Regions from separate parts of the Homo sapiens genome. Here all the other regions are linked to region 3. Evidence: promoter capture Hi-C in 16 types of primary human blood cells and fetal thymus (Javierre and others, 2016). All regions are on one chromosome and are shown on one strand. The core of a region is centred on a gene start or on the middle of the fragment in contact, and the rest is flanking DNA. Distances in the headings are between cores, read along the strand shown. Region 1 overlaps GTF2A2 (general transcription factor IIA subunit 2). Region 2 holds the start of BNIP2 (BCL2 interacting protein 2). Region 3 holds the start of VPS13C (vacuolar protein sorting 13 homolog C).

Evidence for each region. Contacts are between HindIII fragments. The CHiCAGO score rates a contact against its expected background, and 5 or more counts as called.
Region 1: a fragment that was not itself captured here is called in contact with the fragment with the promoter of VPS13C in region 3 in 1 of 17 cell types (activated CD4 T cells); the score reaches 5.8 in activated CD4 T cells.
Region 2: a contact is called between the fragment with the promoter of BNIP2 here and the fragment with the promoter of VPS13C in region 3, in 1 of 17 cell types (non-activated CD4 T cells). The highest score is 7.4, in non-activated CD4 T cells.

Annotation. Positions count from the first base shown.
Region 1 is chr15:59,652,523-59,656,782 of GRCh38, forward strand. All of the region lies in intron 1 of GTF2A2 (general transcription factor IIA subunit 2), which reads right to left. Among named protein-coding and RNA genes, the nearest start is that of GTF2A2, 2.9 kb to the right of the region's middle. The HindIII fragment of the contact is 3,604 bases long and covers 394-3,997 here.
Region 2 is chr15:59,688,070-59,692,567 of GRCh38, forward strand. BNIP2 (BCL2 interacting protein 2) reads right to left here and starts at 1,251. Exons shown (of 10, transcript NM_004330.4): 1 at 1,066-1,251. RefSeq lists an enhancer at 957-1,605 and a silencer at 1,019-1,528. The HindIII fragment of the contact is 5,510 bases long and covers 1-2,161 here.
Region 3 is chr15:62,058,315-62,062,784 of GRCh38, forward strand. It overlaps VPS13C (vacuolar protein sorting 13 homolog C), which reads right to left and starts at 2,133. Exons shown (of 85, transcript NM_020821.3): 1 at 1,961-2,133. The coding sequence starts at 2,060. VPS13C-DT (VPS13C divergent transcript) reads left to right here and starts at 2,189. Exons shown (of 2, transcript NR_135690.1): 1 at 2,189-2,529; 2 at 2,654-4,120. RefSeq lists a silencer at 1,995-2,344 and an enhancer at 2,395-2,444. The HindIII fragment of the contact is 3,439 bases long and covers 1,120-4,470 here.

The DNA of each region.
Region 1 (4,260 bases), core at 946-3,445, 2.4 Mb before region 3:
ATGGGCATTTATACTCCTTTATGCAGTATAGCTGTTATATTTATTAAAATGTCTTTACCATTTCCTTCAAATGTCTGCCTTCTGACTTAGTCTAGAATTTTCCATGTACTGTCCTTTCTACCTGCTGTCAAGTCACTGGTAAAATCTTCAGCTCATGTTTGCATGTCTGCCCCTTTATTTTCCTGTTCTCTCTAAATTCAGTATTTACAGAGTGCCTACCAAGAGAATGGCACTGTGACAGGTTCCAGAGAGAAGATGATGATTAAAGGCATGCTCCCAATCCTAAAAATTTATACTCTAGAGAATGTAACAAACATACAAAAAGATAAGAACTGGGATAAAGATACAAAGCATACCATGGAGGCTGCCTGTAGAAGTGAGCTGGCTCAGAAAAGCTTCCAGGTTCTTTAAGCTAGACTTTAGCCAAGCAGAGGAGGGAAGTCATTCCAGAGGCTGACAGAATAGAATAAGTAAAGCCATGGAAGGATGAAATGTTTGTGGGGAAAAACATAAACTGTTCTACATTATCAGGGCATAAGTACGAATAGGGAGTGGCAGGAGATGAAGCTGAAAGAGACAGCATAGATGGAGTTGTTTGGCAGGATAGGTGCAAGCAGTGGGGAGTCACTGAAGAATTTTAGGCAGGAAAGGTCAGACAGCTGGGCTTCAGTGCGTGATTTAGAAACAGATGAGGGATGGGGGCTCGAAAAGGGTGGCAGCAGTACACAGTCAATAAATATTTACTGAGCTTCCACTACACGTCAGGTGTAAGATCTTGACCTCATGGCCCTTTCAGTCTGGAGATGGATGGGGGAAAATACATTTGAGGAGCAATCATCAGATAAAACTCAGCAAAAATAATGGCCAGCCATCAGTCCTTACATTTCACACCTTGCTAGCACTGGATTCAACAGATCATTTCTGCCTTCTTGAAACATTTCTTTGGCTTTGAGACAGCATTCTCAGTTCTCATGTCACTGGATACCATTGTATTTTTTATTTTCTTTTGCTGGTTCCTCCTCAGCTCCCTGACTTGTAACTGTTGAACTGCCCTAAGTTTTCTTGGGTCCTCTATTTTCCACATACTTTACTCTCTTAGTTACCTCATCCAGACTTACGGCTTTAAATACCATCTACTATCTGGTGATGACTCTCAAATTTGTATCTCCAGCCCTCAATTCTCCCTTTGTACCCATATATAAAACTGCCTGCTTGACACTGGATAAAAATATCAAGTAGGTAGCTCAAATTCAATTTGTCAAAAACCATGTTTCTGATGCTACTCTTGCAAATATGCTCTGTCCTCAGTCTTACCCACCTCGGTAACAGTAAACATAGTCTTCCTGTAACAGCTCAAAAACCTGAGTCAAGAGTAACTTCTCTTTTTCTTACCTGGCATCCAATCCATCAGCCAACCTTTCAGCTCGTCCTTCTAACTATAGCCAGAATCTGACAGCTTCTACCATCTTCAATGCTATTACCCTAAGTCACCATCATCTGTCACTAAAGTTAATGTGATAACTCATGGTCTCCTTATTTCCAGTCTTGCCTATCCCAACCCCACCCTCATAGTAGCCACACTAAGACTTTAAAACATAAGGCAAATCACATCACTGGTCTATTCAAAACCACCAATGGCAGCATCCCATCTCAGTGAAAACCACAGAGTCCATGGCTTGGAAGGCCTATGTGATTTGGGCCCCCCAGTGCCTACTTCCCTATCTTCGCCCACTCACCCTCTCACTCTGCTCTGGTCATACTGGTCCCCTGCTGTTCTTTGACAGGGGAAGCATGATCCTGCTTGAGGGCCTTTGTGGTGGCTCTTCTTTTTGCTGACAGTATTCTTTCCAAATACCTGCATAGTTCACTCTCTCATTTGATTCAGATCTCTGGGTCAAGCATTACTCCATCAGAAAGGCCTTCTATAATCAACCTATAAGAAAGAATTACCTTCCTTCTTCCTCACACTGCTTTATTTTCATTCATACCAATAACTGAAGCTAACATATATATGCTTATTCTGTCTCCATCTACTAAAATAGATGACACACTGAAGACAGGGACTTCTGTTCATTTACATATTTACCAACTAGAACAACGTATGTAGTATCTATTAAGTATCTGTTGAGTGAAATACTTGGTAGTATGTTAAAGTGCTAATATATTAGAAATGTATCTGAGTATGACACAAAGTATTACACTTCACTGAGGAAACTGCAGCAATAACTTCCAGACTCACAGCCACATCCAGCTACCTACCAATAGCTATACAGGTTGAACATTCCTTATCTGAAATGCTTGGGACCTGAAGTCTTTTGGATTTTAGAATATCTGCATCGTATATACTTAGTGATTGAGTACCCCAAATTCAAGCTCTGAAATGCTCCAAAGAGCATTTCCTTTCAGTGTCATGTTGGTGCTCAAAGTTTTGGATTTTGGAGCATTTTGAATTTGGGATGCCCAACCTGTACCCATATACTCTCCCTCCCTGTCACTATAGTTGAACTCTATACCTATTTTTATCTAAATCCAATCCTTCTACCTTTGTATCAGGCATTGTCTTCTAATTCACTCAAGGATATTGTTCTGACAATTCAGTTGTTACTTCTCTCCCTCACCATCAAATTTTCCCTCTCTGCGGATCATTTCCATTAGCAAACACATAGGTGGCTACTTCTCCCACCTTAAAAAGTAAAACAAAACAAAAACCCCTCAACCCAAATCCCCTGCCAGCTACATCCTATTTCTCAGTTCCCCTTTGCAGCAAAATCCCTTAGTTTTGTCTGTATTCACTGTCTCCCAATTCCTTTTTTCCTATTTTCTCTTAAGCTAATTTTTGCCTCTAGCACTCTAAGGAAACAGGTTGGTGAAGGTCATCAATGGCAATGCTAAAGCTAATTCTCTAGCCTCACTCAGAATATTGGACACAGCTGATTACTCCCTCCTCTTTCGTACAGGATCTTACCTTGGCTTCTGGGACACTGCCCTTTTCGGATTGTCCTAACTCACAAGTTCATCCTTCTTAATACTGTTTGCTGGTTGATCCCGTTTTCGCTAAACTCTTAATATCACAGGACACAGTCCTTAGGCCTCTGCTGCTTTCCGTCTACACCCATTCCTTACGGATAACATTTATTCTCATGGTTTAAGTACCACTGCTGATGATCCCCAAATTCATATAGCATAGAACTTCTCACTCCTGAATCTAGCTGCCTACTCAACATCTCTATTTGTTATCTTTTGCATCGTGGCTTAAAGAACTCCATACTTCTACGAGCTTGGGCAAAACCTTTGATTTCATCCTCCACTCCCTCTATCTCACTCTCCATATCCAATTCCTAGCAAATACTGTAAGGCCTACCTTCAAAATGCATTCAGAATCCAACCACTTCTCACCATCCCTACGGTTATCACCCTGACCTGGGCCACTCTCGTCATCTGGATTACTGCAAAAATCTCCTAAATGATTTCCCTGCTTCTACACTCACCCCTACACTCTAATCACAACTCACAGCCAGGGTGATCTTCTAAAACTTCAGTTACAACATACCTCTCCTCTATTCAAAATCTCCCATGGCTTCTATCAGCCTTTACAATGATCCGGCTACCATGATCTCTTTGACTTTATCTTCTTGTCCCTCCACCCCCAAAACTCTTGCTCATCCCTCTCCAGATACACTGGCTTCCTTGCTATTCCTCAAACATGACAGGCCTAAAAGCATTTGTATTGGCTTTCCTATCTGCCTGAATGCTCTTCCTGATATTTACTTAGCAAATTTTCTTAATTCCTTCAAGTCTTTGCTCAAATAACACCTACTAAATGAGGCTCAAACTGACCACCGTCATCTTTAAAATACCAGTTCCCACCTCCACTCTGGAACTTTCCCGTACTCCTTTATATTTCTCTTTTTTTTTTTGATGGCACCATCACTTTCTAACACCATTATATATTTTATTTTCTGCATCCTCTAATAGAATGTAAGCTCCATGAGGGCAAAGCTTTTTATTTTGTTCACTTAAGTAAAATAGGCGTCTAGAACAGTACCTGGCACACAATAGGAGCCAAAAAAAAATCTGTTCAGTAAACGAAGGCAAATATCAGTAAGTATAATATGCGTGTGGGAGGGGAGAGGGGGTTAAAAAGGGCAAGAAGTCCCAATAGGTAGATAAAAACTCCACAGAGTAGGAATACAGAATCGTGCATCGTGTCCCATTTGACAAATTTTTGAGTTTATCTAGAAAATAGCCCTGCGTTAAACG
Region 2 (4,498 bases), core at 1-2,500, 2.4 Mb before region 3:
GTTTGCAGAAGTGGATCTGTCATACTTCCGGTCTAAGCCCAGCAGTATTAGGCTGCACTAGAGAATATGAAGACTAGGAATAGAGTTTAGAGAAAATGTAAACCAAAAAGAACTAAGAATATGTGCAAAATGATCAAGAAACTAGTCTGCAGGGGTAACTTAATTGGGTAAGGTCAGTTGTAACTTTGAGGAAACATCCATTTACAAATTACAGAATTTGTTTCTACAATTGCAGAGATTCCTATAAAATGTTAGAAAAACTACATTTAATTGAAAATACGAAATCAGGTATTAGGTGAAATAGAGATCCTAATCAAGAGAAGGTGAGAATGAAAAAAGCAACACTAAAATGCAATCACATAGTTTATTCAATTAAATAAATAGGAGGCACCGTAACTATCTTGATGCAACACCGGAAAAGCTGTTTCGTCAAAGAGCTCACAAGACACAGACAAGTAACTCTCCAGCGGCATGAAATGCATCCAGAAATCCAAACCATTTTGCCAGGTATTTAAACAGAAAGGGTTGTGTCTAGATTCACGCGGGGACTCGGCTTTTGACGTACACACTCTGTATTTGGTTTAGCGTACTAGGGAAGATCTATTAAAGCCCTGATTACTTATGCTGCTTCCGTGTCTATTCCCCGCGGTTACGAGGCATACCAGAAGTCCAAGTTTCTTTGTTCTGTACCAGGACGGACGCTGGTCATAAATACTGAACCATCGTAGCCCAGCCACTTCACCCACACCAGGGTAAAAGGGTGGGGGAGCGGAGGAGGGGCAAGGTTCCATCCCGAGCACAACTACCAGAAACGGAAAAGCGACGGGGTGGGGGGCCAAACTGCCAAATACAAACAGGACCCAAGCCAAGGGCGGGGACCTAAGCAGGGCGGGGATCCAGGAAGCACCTCCCGAGCAGGTTCTATGGCTCCCCCTACCAAGGGTAACTCTCTGGGTTTCCTCTCCCCGGACGTCGTGGGCACGCGCCCGACAGACTTTCGCCCCTAGGCCGGTTCCCAGTCCAGCTCCGGAGCCACCGTGCCGAGTTCTCCCAGGCCGCACTCACCCCGGAGGAAGCCTTGGCCCCCTCGTCCTCTTCGCCCCTCCAGGCCGGCGACGTGGGGCTGACGGCCAGGTCGCAAAAAGCAGGGCCGAGCGGAGCCCGCTCCCCTCGGTCGGCGGTGGAGACCCCGGCCCAATCCCCCGGCCGCAGCGGTACGGCGTCGGCGGCAGCAGCTGACCCGGACACAGTGAGAAGCCCCGGCGGAAGTGATAACATCCCGACCTCCTCCGGGCGCGGCAGCCGGCGGTGGAGGCGGCGGGGGCGTGGCGGCGGCGGAGGCGTGGCGTCTTCTTGAAACCCACACAGCATCCCCCCAACCCCCTCAGACGTCACGGGCTAGCGCTCGCGCCTGCACTCGCGGGGTCGGCCTTCCTTGCCTGTGGGCGGACCCGTCGCGTCGACTCCTTATTGGTGGCGTTACTACGCCTCAAGGCGTTTCTTCCCTCTTTGCTGTTCGCAGGGACGCTGCCTGGTAGTTTCAGTTACTTTTGTTTTCTTTCTGCCTGCCTTTATTGATCATTACAGTAGGTGAAATTATCGATATCAATAATAATATTGTAATACAATAGGTGCAATTATCAATATCAATATTATTACAACAGGTGCAATTATCAGTATCATTACAATAGGTGCAATTATCAGCGATCAATAATGTGAATTATAAAATGGATGAAATAAGGGGAGGAGGTCGGGCGCGGTGGTTTACGCTTGTAATCCCAGCACTTTGGGAGGGCGAGGCGGGTGGATTACCGGAGGTCAAGAGCTCGAGACCAGCCTGGCCAACATGGTGACACCTCGTCTCTACTAAACAAACAAAAATTAGCTGGGCGTGGTGGCGCGCGTCTGTAATCCCAACTACTCAGGAGGCGAGGGCGGAGGCGGAGGCGGAGTTGGAGTTTGCAGTGAGCCGAGATCGTGCCATTGCACTCCAGCTTGGGCAACAGAGCAAAAACTCCGTCTCAAATAAAAGGAAAAAGGAAAAAAAAAAAAAAAGAAAAAGAAAAAAAAGAAATAAGGCGAGGAAAAATATCCGAGGCATCATTTTGGGGAGTTAGGCCTCAGAAGCGACCTTAGAGTTTGGTAATATTTGAGTGTGAAAAGCTTTACAGCAGTGCTTCTCTTCACTGGGGGAACGGTCGGTTTATTTTTTTCAATTTTCAATTAGTTTTTGACAAGTTAATAAAACAGAAAAATGAAAAGACATACAAAGTCCAAGTCAAAACTTTTTATCGTTAGAGTTAACAGCCATAAAATTACCTGCAAAATTGACATAGAGTTTTCTACTCTCTCTCTGTGAACCATTTGCAAACAGTTCTCAGAAGAGCCCAGGTCTATAGACCATGGTTAGAGTACTCAAGGTAAACTACTCAAATTAGACCATACTCAGCTGTAGAGTTTCAACCAAATGAGATTTGTTTGGAGAACATCATAGTCTCTCTCAGTTGGGCGTGCTGGCTCATGACTGTAATCCCAGCACTTTGAGAGGCCGAGTCGGTAGATCGCCAGACCTCAGGGCAACATGGCGAGACCCCATCTCTTAAAAAAAAAAAAAAAAAAAGAGACAGAGAAAGAAAGAAAGAAAAAGAAGCAAAGAGAAAGAAAGGAAGAAAGAAAGAAAAGAAGAAAATTAGGTGGGCTTGGTGGCATGCACCTGTGGTCCCAGCCACTTGGGAGGCTGAGGTGGGAGACTCTCTGGAGCCTGGCAGGCGGCGGTTGTAGTGAGCCAAGATCGCGCCACTCCACTCCAGCCTGGGTGACAGCGAAACCCTGTCTTAAAAAAAAAAAAAAGTCCCTTTCCAAAGTTTCATCTGATAAATCCATAGAAAGGCTCAGCATCAAGTATTTGGGTGATTCCATTGGGGTACGATCAGGCCTGAGGGGAACAGAAAAGCTCAAAATTTTAAATCATTGACTAAAAATGCAGCATTCTGCCTGGATTTCACATTGCTTTGGCAACATTTACCCACCATTGGTAGATTAAAGTCCGTCTCTTTGATAAAATGGGAAGAAAATAGTACCTACCTTATAGGGTTTTTGTGAGATGAATTCATATATATGTATTAGGACCTTGGTTGTCATATTGTAATCACATTTAAGTATTAGGTATTCTTTTTATCCTAGTCTAGCAATTTCACTAAATAGCTAGTAGAGAAAACAAAACTGATCAACAGAGCTTTAGCTAAACAACTACTTGGGCCAAGAAATTTCATCTTGATTTACAGAAGTTTTTGTAGTTTCATACTTTGCTTCTTCAGTTCTGCAATGTGCAGAATTCCCCACAGGGTGGCAGAAAATCACTGGAAATCATATATAGTTATGTGATTTCTTTTTTTTAAGATCTTCAGTTCCTTCTTCATTTTAGTAACTTTATTATTTAATAAGCTTGATCAGTGTTTGCTTTGGTTTCGAGTAAGCCATCCTATTACTTATCTTTTTATCCCTATCTTGTTAATTATCCATACTTATTGTTGAAACATTACAAACTACAAGTAAGCCAAAAAGATAATTATTATTAACATATTTATGTATAGCCTTTCAGATTATATATATATATATATTCACACACATATATATTTTATGTATAAATTGCACATATAAGTCTTTATAAAAATCAGATAATGTACTTAGTGGTTTATAATCTCCATTTTCTTCTTTTCATTTAAAATATGAGCTGGGTGCAGTGGCTCACACCTGTAATCCCAGCACTTTGGGAGGCTGAGGTGGGTGGATCACCCGAGGTCAGGAGTTCGAGACCAGCCTGGCCAACGTGGAGAAACCACGTCTCTACTAAAATTACAAATATCAGCTGGGTATGGTGGTGGGCACCTGTAATCCCAGCTGCTTGGGGGTGCTGAGGTAGGAGAATCACGTGAACTCAGGAGGTGGAGGTTGCAGTGAGCCAAAATCACACCATGCACTCTAGCTTGGGCAACAGAGTGAGACTGTGTCTCAAAAATAAATAAATAAATAAAAATACAGATTCTGAGGCTTCACCCTCTACAGTCTATGGAAAGATATGGGAATCTATATTATAAAAATAAATAATTAAAATATATTATGAACTCTTTTTCAAGTCAATAAATACATTCCAATGCTATTATTTTCATTATGGATAATGTATATATTAAACAATCCTTTATTGAACTTTTAGATTGTTCCTTTTTTTTTTTTCTTTTGAGACAGGGTCTCACTTTGTTGCCAGGCTGGAGTGCAGTGGCATGGTCTCAGCTCACTGCAGCCTCCACTTTTTGATTTAAGTGATTCTCGTGCCTCAGCCTCTGGAGTAGCTGGGATTATAGGCATGTGCCACCATGTCTAAGTTGTGTACTTTTGGAGAGACAGGTTTTTGCCATGTTGCCCGGGGTTGTCCTGAACTCCTGGCCTCAAGTGAACTCCTGCCCACCTTGGCCTCCCAAAATGCTGGGAATACAGGTGT
Region 3 (4,470 bases), core at 883-3,382:
CATTTAATTCCTTAAATGTGTCTTTCTTTACTTACCTTTCCTTTACATTGTATTGAGTGTGGTGGGGGGATGTAAACAAAGAATGTACAGTAGGCCCTCCATATTCACGGACTGAACTAACTGCAGACCAAAAATATTTCGGGGGGAAAAAATAAAAAGTATCAATTCAGCAATAAAAAAATGCAAATTAAAAAACAACAGAACAACTATTTACATAGCACTTACTTATTGGGTATTATAAGCAATCCAGAGATGACCAAAAGTATACAGAAGGATATGCATAGGGTACATACAAATACTAGGCCATTTTATTTAAGGGACTTGAGCAACCTCCAATTTTGGTATGGTCAGGGGTACTGAAGCCAATCCCCCATAGATACCAAGGGACTATTGTATTGTTGGGCAAACCACAGTGAACCAATCAAATGATCAGCCACCTATTAAAAACAGGCTCTTGCCAGGCACTATAGCTCACACCTGTAATCCTAGCACTTTGGGAGGCTGAGGCAGGAGGATCACTTCAGCCCAGGAGTTGGAGGCTGCAATGAGCTACGATCTTGCCACTGCACTCCAGCCTTGGCAACAGAGCAAGTCCTTGTCTCAAAAAGACAAGCCAAAAAAAAAAAACAACAACAACAACAACCAGGCTCTTCCGTAATTCAGGGTATAAACAGCATTGCCCAATATATGTTCCATATACGTAATTATAAATTTTAGAAGCCAAGTTTAAAAAGAAAAAAAGTAAAACTAAAAAACACGGGAAATACACTTTAATATTATATTTAATTTAACCCAATATATTCAAATATTATTTCAACACATAAGCAACATAAAAATTATTGAGGTATTATTTTTTTCTCCTACTTCATTAGGAGTAATGCTTATTCAAAACGATGTTTTAATTCATACAGCAAGTCTCAATTAGCACTAACCTCATATCAAGTGCTCCACAGCTACAGTGGCTAGTGGTTACCCTAGTGGACAGGGGAAGTCTATAGCTATTTGTTGTTGCTTGAATTAAAAGCAGATCCATACATTTGAGTCGTTTTTTGAATTTTCCTCCAAAGCTGACAAAGTTCCCAAACCTTTTGTGGAGTGAGAAAGTCCCAAAGTCCTCAAAGCTTAACACGTAATTCATGCAAACGATTAAGCTCGTTGAAGAGTGTATGTTTAAGTACACTATTTCCTGAATACTTTTATACACTTAATCTCCAGGATAAAAACGTTGGCATAAATTCCTGAGCATGCAACCAAGCAGACACCTAATTAATGACGATGCTGGTCGAGGCTTGAATTTCTCTCTATTGCTCCAAAACAAAATTCAAAATCCTCTTCGTATTGACGGAAAAGTAAATATTAAAGGAAGAAATCATTTTCACAGGAGCTGAAAGCATTAAGAGTAAGAATCCCTAAGCACACGCCTATCTTAAAGATCTCCTGCCCGTTCCTCTCCAAACCCGGTAATCCTAAAGAGAAGGAACCCAGTTCTTGCTCCCTGTAAAATGATAGTGAAGATAACTGCGAGATGCAACTTCCTCCTTTTTTCTTAGTGCCACTTCGAGCGTATATGACCAGACAACCATGCTCACTCCACGCGATACCGAAACAGAAAGGGCTCTGTTTTTATGCTGTAGGGCCAAAGGGGCCACCCTGAGTGCAGCGAGAGGACCACAGAAACGGGCAGGGCGGGGACAGCAGGGCCAGGGCTTGGCCTCGGGGGACGAGAAAGGTGGGAACTTTGGCAGCGCGGGCGGGATCCCGCCGCATCTCCCCAGCCGGAGTCGGGACTGGGACCCCGAGAATCCGCGGGCGGCAGAGGCTCCCGCATCTAGCACCTGCCGCACCGGGATGGGGAGTCTCAGGCGGCGCAGGGAGCAGGGCCCGGGCAGAATCCCGGACGGAGCAGCCCTCGGCTGGGCCCTCAGCGCCCGCAGCCCACTGGCCGCGCCCTCTCGCTTACCGCCCCAGATGCCCAGCTTCAGCTGGGACTTGTTCAGGTTCTCCACATAGTCCCCCAGGAAGCGGTTCAGCAAGTCCGCGACCACCGACTCCAGCACCATGGTGGCGCTGAGGCACAAGGAGAGGGAGGAGCCGGAACCGCCCGGCGCAGCTGAGGGCTGCGACCAGCGCTGCAAATGACAGCCCCTCCGGCGCAGGCCCACCCCCGCGCCGCGCGCGTGACCCCGCCGGTGCGCAGGCGCGCTGTCGCCCGGCCGGTAGCTAAGGAGGCCCAGCTGTGATCCCGAGGCTTTGTAGGCGCCGCAGCCCTGGCCCTCTAGAGGCCGACGGAGGAGTGCGGGGGAAGTTAGCTTGCGCCTGTCTCGTCAGCCGTGCACGAGAAAAAAAAGGACCTTCGAGAAGAACAAGGGAGGGCAAGAGTTACCGAGTACAGGGACATCTATGTGGCCGCTCTGCTTTCCCGCCGTCACCTGCTGTTGAACTCCGGCCGCATCGCGGTGTCCGGAGCCGCCTGGCCTGGAGTATGCGCTGAGCGTCACCTAGGCAACCACCCCTGCACCTGTGGATCAGGTGGGGGAAAGGGACCGACCGCGTTCTTGTCCTGCTAGAGTTCGACTCCGCCTGGGGCTTGGTCTCTGCTTCTTGAAAACATTGTTTTTTTATTTTGTTTCTGTTTTGTTTTGTTTTGAGACAGGGTCTCGCTCTGTTGCCAAGGGTAGAATGCAGTGTCGGGATCATAGCTCACTACAGACTTGACATCCTGGACTCAAGAGATCCTCCTGTGTCAGCCTCCCGAGTAGCTGGGACCACTGGCGCGCGACAAATAATTTGAAAGTGGGAGGAGGGGAACAGAACCACATCAAATGGCAGATATCATAGAATGAGAACTGAATATACGCGTTTTGTGGGAAACGCGTTCTTTTCCCCTTTCTCTAAGATTCGCTTTTAATTCACTAGCCACTAACCAGTTACCTATCTCATTACAGATATAAAAAACAAAACGTAGTAGTGCCTTTTTAAGTATGAGTTACTTGTTATTTATATATCACTTTCTTCCATGCTATCGTTGAACTGTCTTTGATGTAGCACGACCTTAAAAGCAGAGCTTTTATACCACAAGATCTTTCAACCCTTGTGAAATTTAACCACCCATTGAGATTCACCTCTTTAGAGAACTAGAAATTTTTTCCTAAAATATATTTCAAAAAGTTGTTGAGATACAGTACACAGGAAGAAACCTAAGAAATGCTGATTATTTGTAGTCACAAGCATTAATAAGTGCTTTGCTACGAGGAAGTGTCTGAGAAACTATTCGTGTATTTTTCTTAAACAACCTAGGCTTGCACAGGATCACAAAGAAAAATCTTAAATTCAAAGTCCGCTGGAGAAGAAAGAAAATCAAAATGGCTACAATTGGTGTTGTGTATTAAATAAAATTAAAAGTACAAAGAAAGACCCAGTCAGTACTAACTAGTACTATCAAGATCACATTCCTCTCCCACTTTTGCACACTCCATTCCTCTTTAAGAAGATAAATCCTTAACCGTCTGTTTTTCCTAGCTGGTCACAAAGACAAAATACTAGTAAGTACTTTGGATTTCTTCACCATCCACAACCAAATAACAGCCTAACCTGTCTATTTTGCTTTTGCCATCTTTCCTAAATTCTCCATGTTTTTCTTCTGGACCATGCCATCCATCTCCTTGAAATTCACTTCCTAGCCTCCAGTTATTCCTTCCTCCAGTCTATTCTCATGAACACCGGATGTGTTTTCCCAAAGCACAGGTGAGCTTAGGTTAGTCACCTGCTCAAAAACATCCAATAACTTCCCAGTGTTTAGAACACTCTCTTCAAACTTTCTCCACGTTCTTTCTAGTCATACACTCTAACAATCCCGCTTCCTTTTTACATTCACACTGACTATGCTCCAAGAGGAATGTAAAGAAGCAATATATGTTCTGGTTGAGATAAGGCATGTACCATAAAAAGTTAAGAAAGAAGCCAATCCAAGGATGTATGAATAACAGTATAAGATGATAGGAAAGATGGCACAGGCAACATAGCTTGGTCAAGCAGGTGGAGCAATAGGCACAATCTCTTGGGAGAAGTGAGTAACACTAATGCTTTGTCTAATAAAGTAATTCCTTACAGTTCTATGGTATAACTTGGTAATTTTGAAAGAATAATGTGTAAATGTGCTTTCATATGCATCATTCAATTTTATTATGTTTCAGTTATACTTTGTAAGGCCTCATGTCATTATTATGCGAAGGTAGGCATTTTTGTGTACTCCTCACAAAAGAGCTGTGAGGTAGCTAATGCAGGTAGTAGTATGGTCCTCATTTTACAGAAAAATTAAGCTCGGGAATGTTAAGTGACTTACCCAAAGTCACACAGCAGATATTAATTTCCTTTGATTCTCTGAGCACTGCCACCCTTTTCTCTTCTGGTAATTATACAATTTAATCAACACTGGGCTATTAGTCATTTTCAGAGATCTTACTTTGAAAG